Linked DNA regions of Homo sapiens: region 1 is linked to region 2. The links are contacts of gene promoters, found by promoter capture Hi-C in blood cells and fetal thymus (Javierre and others, 2016). All regions are on one chromosome and are shown on one strand. Each heading gives the region's core, a stretch centred on a gene start or on the middle of the fragment in contact. The rest is flanking DNA. Distances are from core to core; before and after follow the strand shown. Region 1 holds the start of MPZL1 (myelin protein zero like 1). Region 2 holds the start of UCK2 (uridine-cytidine kinase 2).

Region 1 (4,103 bases), core at 1,339-3,838, 1.9 Mb after region 2:
CGAACTTCTTACACCCCTTTCACCACTCTCCACTGCCTCCAGAAAAAACACAACTCAAGGCTCTTCAAAATATGACCGCAGCCTCCTTTCCTGGCATTCTCTCTTCCCCTCTTTCCCTCACTCCCCTCAAGTTGCAAACCACAAAGGATTCACCTAATGTTTCTCACACTTGGTAGGTGATTTCTTTTCTCTGAATGTGCTTTTCCTGTTTTCTCCGTTCTCTGAGTTTGCTTTTCCTGTTTTCTCTCTGGTGAATTATTCATCTTTTAAAGTTCACCTTAAATGTTTTATCCTTGGTGAATCTTTCTAGATGCTTCTTGGGCCAGTGGATTTTAGGAGAGCGAGGTATATGTGGCTGAGGTACATCACAATCAGCAGAGAAGCTTTAAACACTGCTGAGAGTCACTGTCCCTGCTGGCCTTGGGTTTCTTCTTTATTCACTCTTCCTTTTTTTGAGACGGAGTCTCGCCCTGTCGCCCAGGCTGGAGTGCAATGGCGCGTGATCTCGTCTCACTGCAACCTCTGCCTCCCAGGTTCTGTAGCAGGATGAGCCGCAGACAAAACTCCTCAGACACGGAGTTAAAGAAGGAAGGGGTTTATTCGGCCGGAAGTATCGGCAAGCCTCCTGTCTCAAGAGCCTAGCTCCCCGAGTGAGCAATTCCTGTCCCTTTTAAGGGCTCACAACTCTAAGGGGGTCCGCGTGAGAGGGTCATGATCAATTGAGCAAGCAGAGGGTACTGTGAATGGGGGCTGCATGCACCGGTAATCAGAACGAAACAGAACAGGACAGGGATTTTTACAATGCCTTTCCATATAATGTCTGGAATCCATAGATAACATAACCGGTTAGGTCAGGGGTCGATCTTTAACTACCGGGCTTAGGTCAGGCAGGCCCAGGCCTGGTTTCGGGTCTGGTTCTTAGGCGCCGGGTTACCTGCCTTTAATTTCGCTTCTCTTTCCTTTTCTGAGTATAAAACTATATGAGAGGTTCTGTCTCTCTTCTCTCAGTTCAAGCGATTCTCCTGCCTCAGCCACCCGAGTAGCTGGGTACAGTCACGCGCCACCCATGCCCGGCTAATTTTTTTGTATCTTTTAGTAGAGATGGGGTTTCACTACGCTGGCCAGGCTGGTCTCAAACTCCTGACCTCGTGATCTGCCCGCCTCGGCCTCCCGAAGTGCTGGGATTACAAGTGTGAGCCACCGCACCCGGCCCTCATTTTTACAAATGTAATTGAGTACTTGTTTGTGTACACTAGTAGACGATGTGCTTCTTGAGAGTAAAGCCCAGGTGTTCTACATCCATGGTTCAATTAATGCATTGGTATCTTTTCCAACCTATGGCATTTGAGATACAACTTCAAAAGGATCTGCTGACAGAAATAGGGCAAAGTGGTTCTGGTATTTTTTTTTTTTAAGTTTTTTTCTCACTAATGTTCTTATGATTTCGCTGTACTGCAATGTTAGCTGAAACAGCACAGATATCAGGAATGGCATTGTTAAGACTGACCTTAGACAAAAACCCTGAAGTGAGAGGTTACATTTTGGGTTCTCACCATACTCTTCCCCCGCTCTTGTCCTAATTGTCTAAAGCTTGCTTCCCTTCCTCATCGTATCAGCCTCCCACCTGAATCTTCCCTTTTCCTCCTTCACACTCATCTTTCTTGTGCCCCTGTCCCCCATTTTTCCCTTTTGTAAGCCATTTTCATAAGGATCCTTCCAAATATTTCCCCTATTGATTGGACAACCCGTAGGTGGCAGACTGTTCTGGGCCAAGGCAACCAAGTTGAGCAGGGCCAGCAATCAGTGTCGGGAACTTCTGCAGGGCACTTCAGAATCAGTGTTGGGAACTTCTGCTTTCTATTTTTCACGGACACAGACAGGAACACAGATATGCGAAAGCAAAACAATCAAAAAGCATTTTCATTTGTTTTTCAGGTAGTAGGAAAGAGTTCCAGATTCCCATCCTTCTGAAGCCAGGAGGGAGGTTCCTAAGAGGAGGTTAGGGCAAGATGGAGACTTCTTTTTAAACTAGTAGATTTCGCAAATTGCAACACATACATTATCTAGTCCACGCAAAGGACAGGCCTTGGGGACACGGCACGGGGAACGTGTTCCACCTGGACGACTGAATCAGAAGTCTCTCCCCCATCAATTGAACGCCTCATTATTTTTCTTTCTGTCTTTTCTTTCTTTTTAAGGTAAATGAATTGCTTCTTTTTCGTTAGGTGAGGCCGGCAGAGAACAAGAAGAGCTGAAACGGAGGCGAGGTTAGTACCCAGCAAAGACCTGTGGCGAGGAGAGACAATGAAGAGGACCACGGGACTGGACCCTGAGAAAGGCAGAGGAGACGCTGGCTGGTGGGGCCCGCAGGCGGACAGCCACGCAGGCAGGCGGAAGGCTCGGCTCGGCCTGGGACCGCTGCAGACCCGGCCTCCGCGCGGGGCCGAGGCGCCTGGGTGGGACCGAGGAGGCGGGGCCTTCCCGGCGGACGGATGATGGACAGCCTGACTCTCCAATCGCGTCCTTAAAAGGGTGCGGGCAGGCCAATGAGCGGACAGCGAGGGCCGGAGTGGGGCTGAGGCTTCGGTGCAGAGCTGGAGAGCCGCGGCTGGGACCGGAGTGGGGAGCGCGGCGTGGAGGTGCCACCCGGCGCGGGTGGCGGAGAGATCAGAAGCCTCTTCCCCAAGCCGAGCCAACCTCAGCGGGGACCCGGGCTCAGGGACGCGGCGGCGGCGGCGGCGACTGCAGTGGCTGGACGATGGCAGCGTCCGCCGGAGCCGGGGCGGTGATTGCAGCCCCAGACAGCCGGCGCTGGCTGTGGTCGGTGCTGGCGGCGGCGCTTGGGCTCTGTAAGTGATGCCAGGACCAGGGCTGGGGCCGGGGAGTGGGGCCCCCGGGCCCGACACACGCCCATCGCGGCGGTCGCAGGCCAGGCGCGCGCACTGAGAGCCGAGGTGGGGAGGGGGCGCGGCCTGCGCTCTCTGGGGCCGAGGGGACCCAGCCCATGGGGAACGCGGGCCTCCGCGACTGGCCGGGAAGGCGCAGAGCCTCTTTCTTCTCTTTCCTGGATCCTGGAGTGCGGAGGAGGAGGGGAGAGTGCTTTACCTTGCTCCTTCCCGGGGGGCGGTCCAGGGGAGCGGACCCGGCGGGCGGCTGCGGTGAGCCCTCGCGGCGCACCCTGCCCTCTCCTCGTGGTGACTCTGGATCGTCTAGGCCCTCCCGGATTCTGACTCAGGAACTAGGGTTCTGGCGTTCTTCACCTTTGGGAGGTGGCGGAAAGTTGCAGGTTTTTCATTTGTAGGGCCTTTGTTGATTTGTTTCCTGTTAAGCCAGGGTTTTGTTGTAAGTTCCCTTTCCCATGCTCTCATTCAGTTTTAAGTCTCCGTAATAAAAGAGTCTCATTTCCGTGGTCTGCAAAACGCCAATAAAAAAATATTGTTACTTCTAGGTTAGAATGCAAAGAGCTTGGAATACCAGTGAGATGGCCTGGCTTAAAAGAATTTGGTCAAATCCATCATAATTCCAGACGTAGCCACCATAATTTGACAAGACATAGAGCATTAAAAAGCATAATTTTCCTAAAGGAAAAAAAAAGCTCCTTTTTCTTACCAAATATTGTGACTCAAGCTTAAGGTAAACCTCGGGCTCAATTTATGGGAATTGGATGACTTGTTTTATGGACATCTGAAGTGGTATCTGCCACAGGACTTTTCTGTGTTGTTGTTCAAAGCAAAGTACTTGTTGCTGTCTCCGAATTTAGTTAAATAATAGTTATAAAGAGGGCCAGCTGCTAAGAAACCACGTAGATTTTTTTCATTCCCTTTGTTTTCAAAATGTCAGTTATGATTTAGCATCACAGTATCTGAATACCAGAGTTTACTCAGTAATTTCTTTCTTCATGGAAAAGTTCTTAATATAATCCTTGGATCAGGGAAACTAGGTGAAGTTCTGTTGGATCACCAACTGTTCCACTTAAACAGTGATTCCAGGGGCTGTAAAGCATAAATGTAAAAGTCTCCCTACCCTCCAGGGGTTGACAGATGATGACACACTTTGTGTAAGACACAATCCATTCTGTATTTTGTCTTAGAAAAAAAGGTTAA
Region 2 (3,968 bases), core at 496-2,995:
CTTTTGGAGAAGAGGCTAACTCTAGGACCACCTAAAACTCACCCACTCCATAGCTATTTGGTAAGGCACCCCTTTAGGAAACTTCACCCAAATGCCTGCTTCTGGGTACCAGGTAGTGGCCACTCTCCCCATCTTTGTCTCCTGTCTGAGCTGCTACCGAGTTTGATGTTAGATGGTGACATAAAATACAGTAATTCCTAGATATATGCGGAGGGACTGGTCCCAGGACAGCCTACATGTAACCAAATCCACACATGAAGTCCCACAGTCAGTCCTGAGGAAACTGCACAAATATTGTGTTTTCCATCTGCCCTTGGTTTAAAAAAAAAGCTGCATAAAAGTGAACCTCACAGTTTGAACCAGTGTTGTTCAAGTGTCAACTTTAATTTAAAAGTGAAAAAAGTTTGTTTTCTCTGGTATCCTTTTTTTTGTTTTGTTTTGTTTTTGTTTTTGTTTTTTGACACAGGCTCTGGCTCTGCTGACCAGGCTGGAGTGCAGTGGGGAGATCATGGCTCACTGCAGCCTCGATTTCCCTGGCTTGAGAGAAAATTATTTTTTTCAAAATAATCTTCAATTTAAGGTAATTTACTAAGTTTCAAAAGATAATGCTATTGACGTAAATTCTGTTTTAGATTGTAGGCCCCATCAGCTCATTGATACTAGTCCCAAGTTCACAGGAGAAGAGACTGGAAGTTACTAGGCTAGTCCTGCCTCTCTCAGGTGTGTCCCAGCAAAACTTTTCTTTCCAGTTTCAGCGCTTTAGAAACCTTTTCTCTTCAAACACTAATACAGGGCCTAGACTGTACCAGCACTGTTCTGAGAACTTTACATACACTAATTCATTTAATTCTCACAAAAATCCTGGGATGTAATTGCCATTATTATTCCCATTTAACAGATAAGAACACTGAAGCACAGAGAGATTAAGTAACTTGCTCAGGGACCTGGATGTGAATGCAGAAATCTGGCTCCAGAGGTGGAGTCTGAAACTGCCTTTCTAAGTGACTGATTGCCAATCTCTGGAAAACCGTTCAATTGAAGATATTAATGGATCAAAATGTCAGTATGTTTTCAGATACCCTAACTCCATAGGAAGCTCAGTGTATGGGATGAGATACTGTGGTTTAGAAGGGAATTGCTTTTCCAACGGAGGGCACCCTTCAGATAAGCCCCTCAAATTGCCCTTCACTAGAGAGTCGCACGAGGACAGGCCTGCTAAAAAGGATGGCGCTGGGGGGTTTCCAAGACAGGAAATATCTAAAGCCAGCGGCTGACATATTATCTTGGCGAACGGGAGAAGGGAAAAAGAACCCTCATTTTTTGGAAACACAAGTTTTTAGCCTGGATAATGGGTAAATGACATTAACTCTTCGTTCCACACTAATCTTTCAAGCTTGTTCAAATTTTGCTTCTCAAACCTGGGCCATTCCTTCTTATCTAATCTGCCTATTATTTCCTTCAAGCTTTTTATCCCTTCTGAAAATAGGTGGTAGCATACCAAATTAAAATACAGAACAGCCTGTTTCTTTCCCCCAGGGTCCACTAGGGCGCGTCGGAGAAAGGGTTAACCGGGCGGGTGGGAGGGAAGGTCGGGCTCACACCTTTCGCAGAGACCTCGGGCGGCGGCGGGGCCCGGGAGGGGCGGAGGCTGGGGCCAGACGCCTCGCCGCCTCCGCCTCGGCGAATAGCAGCGCGCTGCCCGCCCGGATTGGAGCAGCAGCATCACGCTGACCTCTGCCTGGGATGTAAACCGGACCAGCCGCTGCGGGCAAAGGAAGGCTCTTGGCTCCTTCGGGAAACCCAGCCCCGTCACCGGGCTCCGAGCGGCTCGCAGGCGAGCGACAGCGGCCTCAGCCCCGGCAGCGCCCAGCGGCGGCTGCGGAAAGCGGAGGGAGTCCGACGCGGGCGCGGGCGGGGAGCGTGCGTCCGTTCGCACAGGCAGCGGGAGGAGGGGCGGCGCGAACCATGGCCGGGGACAGCGAGCAGACCCTGCAGAACCACCAGCAGCCCAACGGCGGCGAGCCCTTCCTTATAGGCGTCAGCGGGGGAACAGCTAGCGGCAAGGTACGGCGGGGCCCGGAGCCGCGCTCCCTTCCCGGCTTCTGTCCCTGGGCGGCGCATGTGGCCGGCGGCCGCGGGCCGTGTCAGTTGCGGCAGCCACCGCGTGGCCCGCGCGCCTCCGCTCCCGGCCGCGCTCCAGCGCCGAGTGCGCCCCGCGCGGCCTGGGGGCGCTGCGGCGGGGGCAGGCGAAGACTCGGGCCTTGGGGGTTCCGGGGGTACGCGGCCACGATCGCAGGGCGGGAGTGCTCCTCCGGCTTTTCTCCCCCCGCGTTAATAACTCGTGGCCGGGGTCCTATGGGGGAAGGGCAGGGAAGCGGATGCTTATTGTTTTGCAACTCCAGTGTCGGGGGAGAGGGCTTTCCGCAGGATCCCCCACTAACCCCCGATGGACTCCCTCAAGCCCCGGTCTGGCACAGACGTGCTCGCCCCGCGGCGCAGCCTGGTGCCGAGGGCGGAGCGAGCCGGGAAGCGCGGCCGAGAGGGCGAGGGTGGCGGGAACGCGCGAGGCGGCATCCCGGGGAAGGGGAGCCCAGTGTGGGGCTGCACGCAAGGGCTGGGGATTACAGGGGTTTCCGGGTAAAAGTCTGAGAGCCAAATAGGTGCCGTGACATCAATGAAACGATAATAGTAGGGGCTTCTGTTTTTTAAGGTTATAAGAGGAAACGTGGTCGGCTTCAATGAGAAAGTTGTACTGGCTCCAAGCTCTTCGGTGTCCAGGACGTACGCGTCTTGGATCCACGGAAGGGGGTCATCGTATGGGTGTCTGACCCTCTTAGGAGCCTGTTTCCTTTGTTTTATCCGCAAGGCAAGGAGAGACAAGGGAAATGACTTCCTAGCTTTACCCGGGGTTTTTTCTGCAGGTGGAGAAGGGTGGAGTCCTCCCAGATGGTTCTTTCTTTGCTCCCCTAACAGCCTTTAAGATGTGGCTACTTGTTTTTCCCACCGTTTAACACCCTCCAACTTCATTTGGAGCACGGGTTCCTCAAGGGATCCTGAGAGCTGGGTGCTGGGTGCTGGTTTGGAGAGGCAGGATGATGCTTCTCCCGGCTGGGGAGAGCAGAGCAGGAAGGCTGGTTGGCGCCATGAGGAAAGAGCCACGAGGTTTTAGCTCCCGAACCGACTCGTCAGTAGCCCCTCCTCCATGTTGGTTTTACATTTTTCCCTCCTGGTCTGGACTACTTTAGCGCAAGGAGCCCAGCCAGACACGGCGGCTGGCGCTGCTGGACTTCTTTATTGATGAAGTTGATCTCGTCCGTAGCTCCCGGGGTTAGGAATCGGCCTGCTTTAGGTCCTGAAGTTTCTGTTCTGTGTGCTCCCTGGTTGAAGGCTTTTAAAAAAATTTGTAATTTTTGAGTATGTTCTTTACTATGACTTATACTAGTAATTCAAAGCAAAACCAGAATGCTAGCCCTTCAGGAAGCTTTACCTGTTCTTTTAGAATTATTCTTGCTCTTCTGGCATATTCCTGTTGGATTGGGAGCATTTTTTGTTGTTGTTGTTCATGGCTGTTTTCCCAGCCCTCCTAGCACAATGCCTGCCTGGCATGTAGTGGGGTCCAAATTTTAAGCTGAAGTCCAGTCCTCCTAAAGTGGGGAGGAGGCTTAAACTTGCATATGAGCTTTTAGAAACAAAATGATCTTGGTAATCATCTGAATAATTTAGTTACCACGAGGGTGAAAACTGCGACCCTAAAAGGTGAATAACTCTGTTATTGTTCTTCTTGTGTGTTTCTCAGTCGTCACCTGTTCTAACTTGATAATCAAGCTTTTGGTGTTACTTGGGTAAAGTGAGGGATGGGATAGTGGTGAGCCAATGTGGGAGTAGCTAATTCTCTGCTATTTTTATCCAGGAGGAAGAGTGTAGAAACTCTCAAGAAAGGAAGGGTCCGTTTTTCTGCAGTTTTCAAA

The links. The method cuts DNA at HindIII sites, captures the fragments that hold promoters and counts their contacts. A CHiCAGO score of 5 or more calls a contact.
Region 1: the fragment with the promoter of MPZL1 here is called in contact with the fragment with the promoter of UCK2 in region 2 in 1 of 17 cell types (fetal thymus); the score reaches 6.3 in fetal thymus.

The regions. Positions count from the first base shown.
Region 1 is chr1:167,719,394-167,723,496 of GRCh38, forward strand. It overlaps MPZL1 (myelin protein zero like 1), which reads left to right and starts at 2,589. Exons shown (of 6, transcript NM_003953.6): 1 at 2,589-2,849. The coding sequence starts at 2,759. RefSeq lists enhancers at 191-690, 2,917-3,417 and silencers at 2,229-2,598, 2,989-3,058, 3,089-3,228. The HindIII fragment of the contact is 2,037 bases long and covers 1,589-3,625 here.
Region 2 is chr1:165,825,869-165,829,836 of GRCh38, forward strand. UCK2 (uridine-cytidine kinase 2) reads left to right here and starts at 1,746. Exons shown (of 7, transcript NM_012474.5): 1 at 1,746-2,064. The coding sequence starts at 1,966. RefSeq lists silencers at 1,535-1,784, 1,865-2,344, 2,405-2,634 and an enhancer at 2,100-2,653. The HindIII fragment of the contact is 2,018 bases long and covers 1,462-3,479 here.